2 separate regions of the Homo sapiens genome follow, and region 2 is linked to region 1. The links are contacts of gene promoters, found by promoter capture Hi-C in blood cells and fetal thymus (Javierre and others, 2016). All regions are on one chromosome and are shown on one strand. Each heading gives the region's core, a stretch centred on a gene start or on the middle of the fragment in contact. The rest is flanking DNA. Distances are from core to core; before and after follow the strand shown.

The links. The method cuts DNA at HindIII sites, captures the fragments that hold promoters and counts their contacts. A CHiCAGO score of 5 or more calls a contact.
Region 2: a fragment that was not itself captured here is called in contact with the fragment with the promoter of MMP7 in region 1 in 3 of 17 cell types (naive B cells, M1 macrophages and M0 macrophages); the score reaches 6.4 in naive B cells.

The regions. Positions count from the first base shown.
Region 1 is chr11:102,529,092-102,532,315 of GRCh38, reverse strand. It overlaps MMP7 (matrix metallopeptidase 7), which reads left to right and starts at 1,569. Exons shown (of 6, transcript NM_002423.5): 1 at 1,569-1,723. The coding sequence starts at 1,616. The HindIII fragment of the contact is 6,591 bases long and covers 1-1,984 here.
Region 2 is chr11:102,569,834-102,573,057 of GRCh38, reverse strand. No RefSeq gene overlaps it. Among named protein-coding and RNA genes, the nearest start is that of MMP7, 41 kb to the right of the region's middle. The HindIII fragment of the contact is 696 bases long and covers 1,407-2,102 here.

The DNA of each region.
Region 1 (3,224 bases), core at 320-2,819:
ATGGATGTGTCTTTGCATTCATTTTCACCCAATTTGTGGCTTGTGTGCTCATTCACTTGAGGAAATGCCTTTTGATTTTAATTCAATGCAAATATTACCAAAAACGTGATATAATTCCATTTTTAGCTTATTCAAGTAAAGTTCATAAATATTCATTATTCTACAAATATTTATGGTGCACCTTATCACATGTCAAACTCTGACTAAGGATACCAATTACTCTAGTTAAACTGTGACCGTACAGAATCAAGACATCTCTGTAAAGAGAGCAAATTTAATTAACTGATCTGAAAATTTTACCTTTGCTGGCTCACAGTGCTCAATTACCATGTAATTGAAGTGATATGTGATTAATTAAATTTTTTAGCTCCAGCATATTTGGAGTGTTTCCCATGATGTATTAGAGTCAAAAGCCATGGTGTTCTCCCAAGTAATGTATAATATAATAAAAGAGACAGACCTATTACAAAATGAATAGGCAGTGCAGTGGGATAGAAAAAGCACTGAGCTACTATCTGTGTGAGCTGGGAGAAGTATAATAAGTTAAATTATCATCTTGGCCTCACTTTCATTTTTGGTAAGAATGGAGTCATTGGGCTAGAATCTGTAGGTAATGGATTCTTACTGCTATACGTAGAATAACCATTTTGTGTACTAAGGACCAATGCAGCCCTACCTGTAGCTGGGCAGCAGCCAGAGTCAGAGTGATTGGAAGAAAAAAATTGGATCTCCAAGTTGAAGGTCTAGCCTTGGAAGAATCTGTTACTATAAAATGAGAAGCAGAATAAGTAAGCCAGATGAAGAGTTAAACCCGTGCTTGTAGATTTTTGTTGGCTTGGTATTTTTTTGTGTTTAATTCAAGAAGAATTAGAGGCAGTGTTCCCCATTAAGAAAAGACATAAACTGATTAAAAGGAGACCCAAAGAAGGGAATTATCACTGCTCTGCTAAGGGACGTGGAAGGTGAGGGGACACAGCACAGTTGTATATAGAGTGGCCACTAATCCAGCCACACAGCAGCATTTCCATCTGCCTCCTGCCATCTTTCCCCTGTATGGAGAACCACAGGATTTTGGTGATGTTCTATTTCTTGACTTTGGTGACGGTTACAGTATTTGCTTAATTATTATTTCATTATTTACATGTTTTGTGCACTTTTCCAAACCTTTTAATTGTTAAGAATATATGGTACCATGTATTTAAGAATACATGGTACCATATAATAAGAATATATATTTAAGAATATATATTATTCTTTAAGAATATATGGTACCATAATGTCCTGAATGATACCTATGAGAGCAGTCATTTGACTTTGGCAAAAAAATGAGGTTTCTCATGGAGTCAATTTATGCAGCAGACAGAAAAAAAAATCCTTTGAAAGACAAATACATTGTGTGCTTCCTGCCAATAACGATGTAATACTTCCTCGTTTTAGTTAATGAAAAATAACACATACTTTCAAAGTTCTGTAGACTCTAAAAAGAAAGAAAACACTCAAATGAGTCACCTATTTCCACATTCGAGGCTGAGAAGCTATATAAATTTCTGCAGTCACTAGCAGAAAACACCAAATCAACCATAGGTCCAAGAACAATTGTCTCTGGACGGCAGCTATGCGACTCACCGTGCTGTGTGCTGTGTGCCTGCTGCCTGGCAGCCTGGCCCTGCCGCTGCCTCAGGAGGCGGGAGGCATGAGTGAGCTACAGTGGGAACAGGCTCAGGTATGTCACAGCCCACTTACTTAGGGTTCCATTCTTTTGCCATCTGCATTAAGAAATGTGTTTTTCAATTATTTCCCTTCCCATGTTAGCATTGCAGTGGAATTTTCTTTGGGGTGGTTCTTCGGATTATAAAAGCAATATATGTTTTCATCAAGTAGCCATTAAAAGCAGGTTTCAGAATCTGCTCAAATCGGGCTTGAGTTCCAACCCTCCACTCACTATGTAGATAGACTCAGGAAGGTCATCAAACTTCTCTAAGCTTCAGGTTTCCAATTTGGAAGTTGGAGATAAGAATGGTATCAACCAAATGAGGGTGTTGTGAAGCATTCAACACAATACCTGAAACATTGTTTAAATTAAGTTCTTATTTTTATTTATTATAACTTGAGATTCTTTTTCTATAGTATACAGAATATTGCCTCTTAAGATACAACCTGTAAATATACTGTTTGTGTATTTACAATACTGTTTGTAATGGAGATATCTGAAGTCAGAAAACATGGGTAGAAATTACAACTCTCCAACAAGTCAATGACAATAGACAAGGCATTAACATCTGACTTTGTTTTCTCATGTGTCCAGTAGAAAAAATAATATTATGTGTTTTATACCTCATGGGGTATTCTAGTAAGTAAATGAGGTGATAACAAAACCAACTAGCATGTATGTAACAATTGTAGATTATAAAGTACTTATATAGACATTGTGTCATTTAATCCTTAGTTCTATAAAAAGAGGAAACCAAAGTTAAACTGATTAGTGTACTTATTAGTGGTAGAGATAGAAATCAAGGACAAGTGCTTCTGGTTCAAAAATCATGTTCCTTGCAATATGCTTCTTAATAAGCAGTCTAATAAATATAAGCAGTCTACTAATTATTATTTGGTTAACTAATGGGATGATTACTTATAACTATTATTTGTAAATTTAGGCCTTAAGCATAAGAAAAGTCAATTTTTAATTCACATTAACTTAGACTTTTAAAAAGTTCCAGTTATAATAAGTTAGATTGAACCACATAAAGTTACTAGTATTTAACTTTTAAAATCTCCAAAACAGTAGTTTTATATGGTTCCACCTAATGAATTCTCCAGAAAGAGTACTCTGCGTTTAGTTTCTTTACTTAGAGTGAAGGTTGGCAGAAACTTAGTCTTCACTTGGAGGGATGTTAGCTAGGTTTAACAAAAAAACAGGAAAAGTCATCTCAACAAAGCAGAGAGATTTCTTCCAGAGGGTGTCTTGGTAAAGTCTGTAGCTCTAGAAGGGATTAAATGGGTTATTTGTTTTTAAATAAAGGATCAGTTATCAATTGTCATGGATGAACAATAAGTATTTGTTGTATTTAATGAGACAATTGTTGGTAACAGGAAAAAAAGACACAATATTAATAAGATTTCTTACATAAATTGCATATTCCTGGGCGGTCCTAAGACAGGTAACCATTACCATCTACTCCAAATAAACTGCAAATTAGTGAGCCAATGTTTAAATCATTTTAACA
Region 2 (3,224 bases), core at 505-3,004, 41 kb before region 1:
GAGGGAGTTAATGAGAAAACAATTGCAAAACATCAGTTAAGAAATGTAACGCTTAAGTCCATCTCAGATCATTTGCAGTGAATGTCCATAAAAAAAAGAATGTCTGTATAAATAGTTAGCAATTTGTTTATTCTTGGAAAGTCCCAGGTCTGTAATGCAGTGATAAACAATGTGAGTTTTTGAGTTGGGTATTAAATGTGTTTACAGCTGCCTCTATAGAGAATGGATGTCAAAAGTCCCATTACAGCCCATTCCACTTGAACTGCAGACTGCTCAATGATTGTAGCATGTCACTTTGCCAGATTTTAAATGTATTTCCATATATGAATCAGCAATTTCTGTGAGTAATTTTATCAGTGGTTTCTTTTGAAATGCTTAATTTCTAAAATTAGTTCATCTTTACAAACAGCCAATTCAGCCTTTTTGAAGGATCTAGCTACCCCCCCATCTCTATCCTTAATATTCACTCTCAATTCACTAGAAAATAATTACTAAGCGCCTACTTTGTGCTGGCACCAACCTATGCTCAGCTGCTTTCTTGCATAAACTCCTGCCCTCAAGGAGCTTACATTCCATTAAAGAGACACACAATATTCAAATGAATAGAGATCTATAATGAAAGATAGTGAAAGTGCTTTGAAAAAATAAATAAAGCAGTGCAAGTAATAAAGAACGTTGGAGTGCCATTTTATAAAAATATGTTTAGGAAAAGGACATACTGGGTCCAGGGTATTCATGCAGAATAACTAAAGGGAGGGAGGAAGCTGTGGAAGTCTCTAGAAGTTTCAGGTAGAAGAAGCAATAAGCGCAAGACCTTGAGGTAGGTAGGAAGGATCTGCACCTGTTTTAGGCACACCAGGAAGGCCAGTGTGGCTGGAGACAGTGAGGGAGAAGGAAAGTAGAAACAGATCAGATCAGAGAAGCAGCTAACCAAGCTATGGAAGCCTTGCGGGTCCCTGTGATAAGAAGGGTTTTCAGCAGGTTCATAACATGATCTGACTGCTGAGTAGCAAACAGATTATAAAAGCACATGATGGATTCAGGGACACTAGACAGTGCCATTTGCCAGGGTAAAAATGATGGTGGCACTGACCAAAGAAGTGGCAGTGAAAATGCTAAGATTGTCAGATTGAGGAATATTTTCAAGGTAAAGCCAACAGTATTTGTATCTAAAGTGCATGCAGAATTTAATAAAAAGAGAAGGATCCACAATGACTCCAACGTTTTTGGCCTAAACAAGTGAAAGAGTAGTGGTGAAATGGAAAGACCAAAGTAAGAGCAGGTTTACGGGGGCTGGAGGTCAAGAGTGTAATTTTGAATTCATTGAGTTTGAGATGCCTATTACACATCCAAGGGGAAATGTCCATACATAAAAAGCTTAAGTAGGTAGATAGATATAAAAAGCTTGAGTTCAAGGAAGAGTTTGAGACCCAATAGAAATTTAGGACTTAAGCCTTAAATTGTTATCTACATTCCTTTTGATTTCCTCCACATTCTATGTGGAATTTAGGACAACGTAAATCATTAAAATATAAGAAGGCAGGTGAAAAATGATCTCAAGATTTTAATTATTGTCCGGTGTTAGTAAGCGCATCCTTTCCCACCTCAAGAACATAGTTTAGTTTTCAACAAAAGTTGCACACTTTTTTTGAAGTTTTTGTTTTTTAGTCTTCATTTTTCTATTTCTTGTTTCCAAAATCAAAGAAGAAATCAGAAAAGAAAATATAAAATCTTCAAGATTGTTCTGAATGAAAGTTGTTGAAAATCTTAAGGATTGTTCTTCAGGAACTAACAAGATCCTATGCTAATAAGTATTACTTATTAATACAGTAATAAGTAGCCTAAGAACTTATTAATACTTTAATAAGTAGCTTAGGAACTTACTAAGAAGGATAAAAGAATTTTTGAGATTTAAAAACATCTGTTTTATTCTTACAGTAAAAACAGTTCTGTTTGTTATCTCATCACGTCCTATAGAGAAAGTGAGTAGCAAGTTCCCTTAATAAAGTTTTCAAATAAGGCAGTTTTTTCAATTAATTTTTTAATTAACTTCTAATTTAATTGCATTATAGTTTGAGAATGTGGTCTGAATGATACAAGCTTTTTTAAATTTGTTGAGACTTACCTAAATTTGTCTTCTGACTTACCATATGATTACAAATTTTTGTAAATGCTGTGTGTTCAGATATACGTTTTCAGTAAGTGAATTTTCTTTTGCACAACTTGTTCTCCTCGGATGTCTCACTTATTTCCCCTGTGAGCTCACATTTTCATGGAATCATCAGTGTCCCCAGCTAGGAGAAGTGTGAAGGCCTGTATCTTTTTTGTTCCCTGCTTGATGAGCGCAGAGGCTGGGATGGGATTGAAGCACCTCTGGGCAGCATTCTTGGTAATGAGGTCTGGACTCAACCCCTGTCATTCTCATTCACTCTTATCAGTGAATCCTCCTCTCAGGGACCCCTCAGAAATTCAGTCTTAGGCTTTGAGTATTTCTGGGGGCTGCTACTATGTCTATAATGGCCTCCCCAGCCATGAGGAACAGTGAGTCAATTAAACTTCTTTCCTTTATAAGTTACCCAGTCTCTAGCCTGGGGAGGAGTGAAGGAAGGGATCTCTCAGGAGCTGGTGAGGCTGACTACACACCTTGTTATGGACATCCCATCTCTGCTGACATCCAACATCAATTTCACATTAATTTATTCAAAAATATTCATTGAATCCCTATTTGACCCTTGGGTTACATCAGGAAACAAAACAAAATCCCTTGCCTTTGTACAACTTCCAGTGTACAAGGAGAAGACAGGCAATAAGCAGTAGACATAATAAGTCATCAAATTATACAGCATGTTAGAAAATAAGGCTTATAGAAAACATAATAACTGTAGGGCAGTGCCCAGACATTTGAGAATCATGAGCTGGGGAGGTAGCTTGTAATTTTAAGTAGATCAGCCAGGAAAGCCCTCACTAAGAAGATATAAAATAGCTTCTTAATGAGAAAGAAAATCCATTTTCTTTTCTGGGTGGCTCTGTGTTCCCATCCAAATCTCATCTCAAAAGGTAATCCCCAGGTGTTGAGGGAGGTACCTGCTGGGAGGTGACTGAATCTTGGGGGTGGTTACCTCCATGCTGTTCTCATGATAGTGAGTGAGTTCCCACGAGATCCGATGGTTTTATAAGTGTTTGGCAGTTCCTCCTTCTATTGCTTTTTCTCTTTTTTTCCTGCC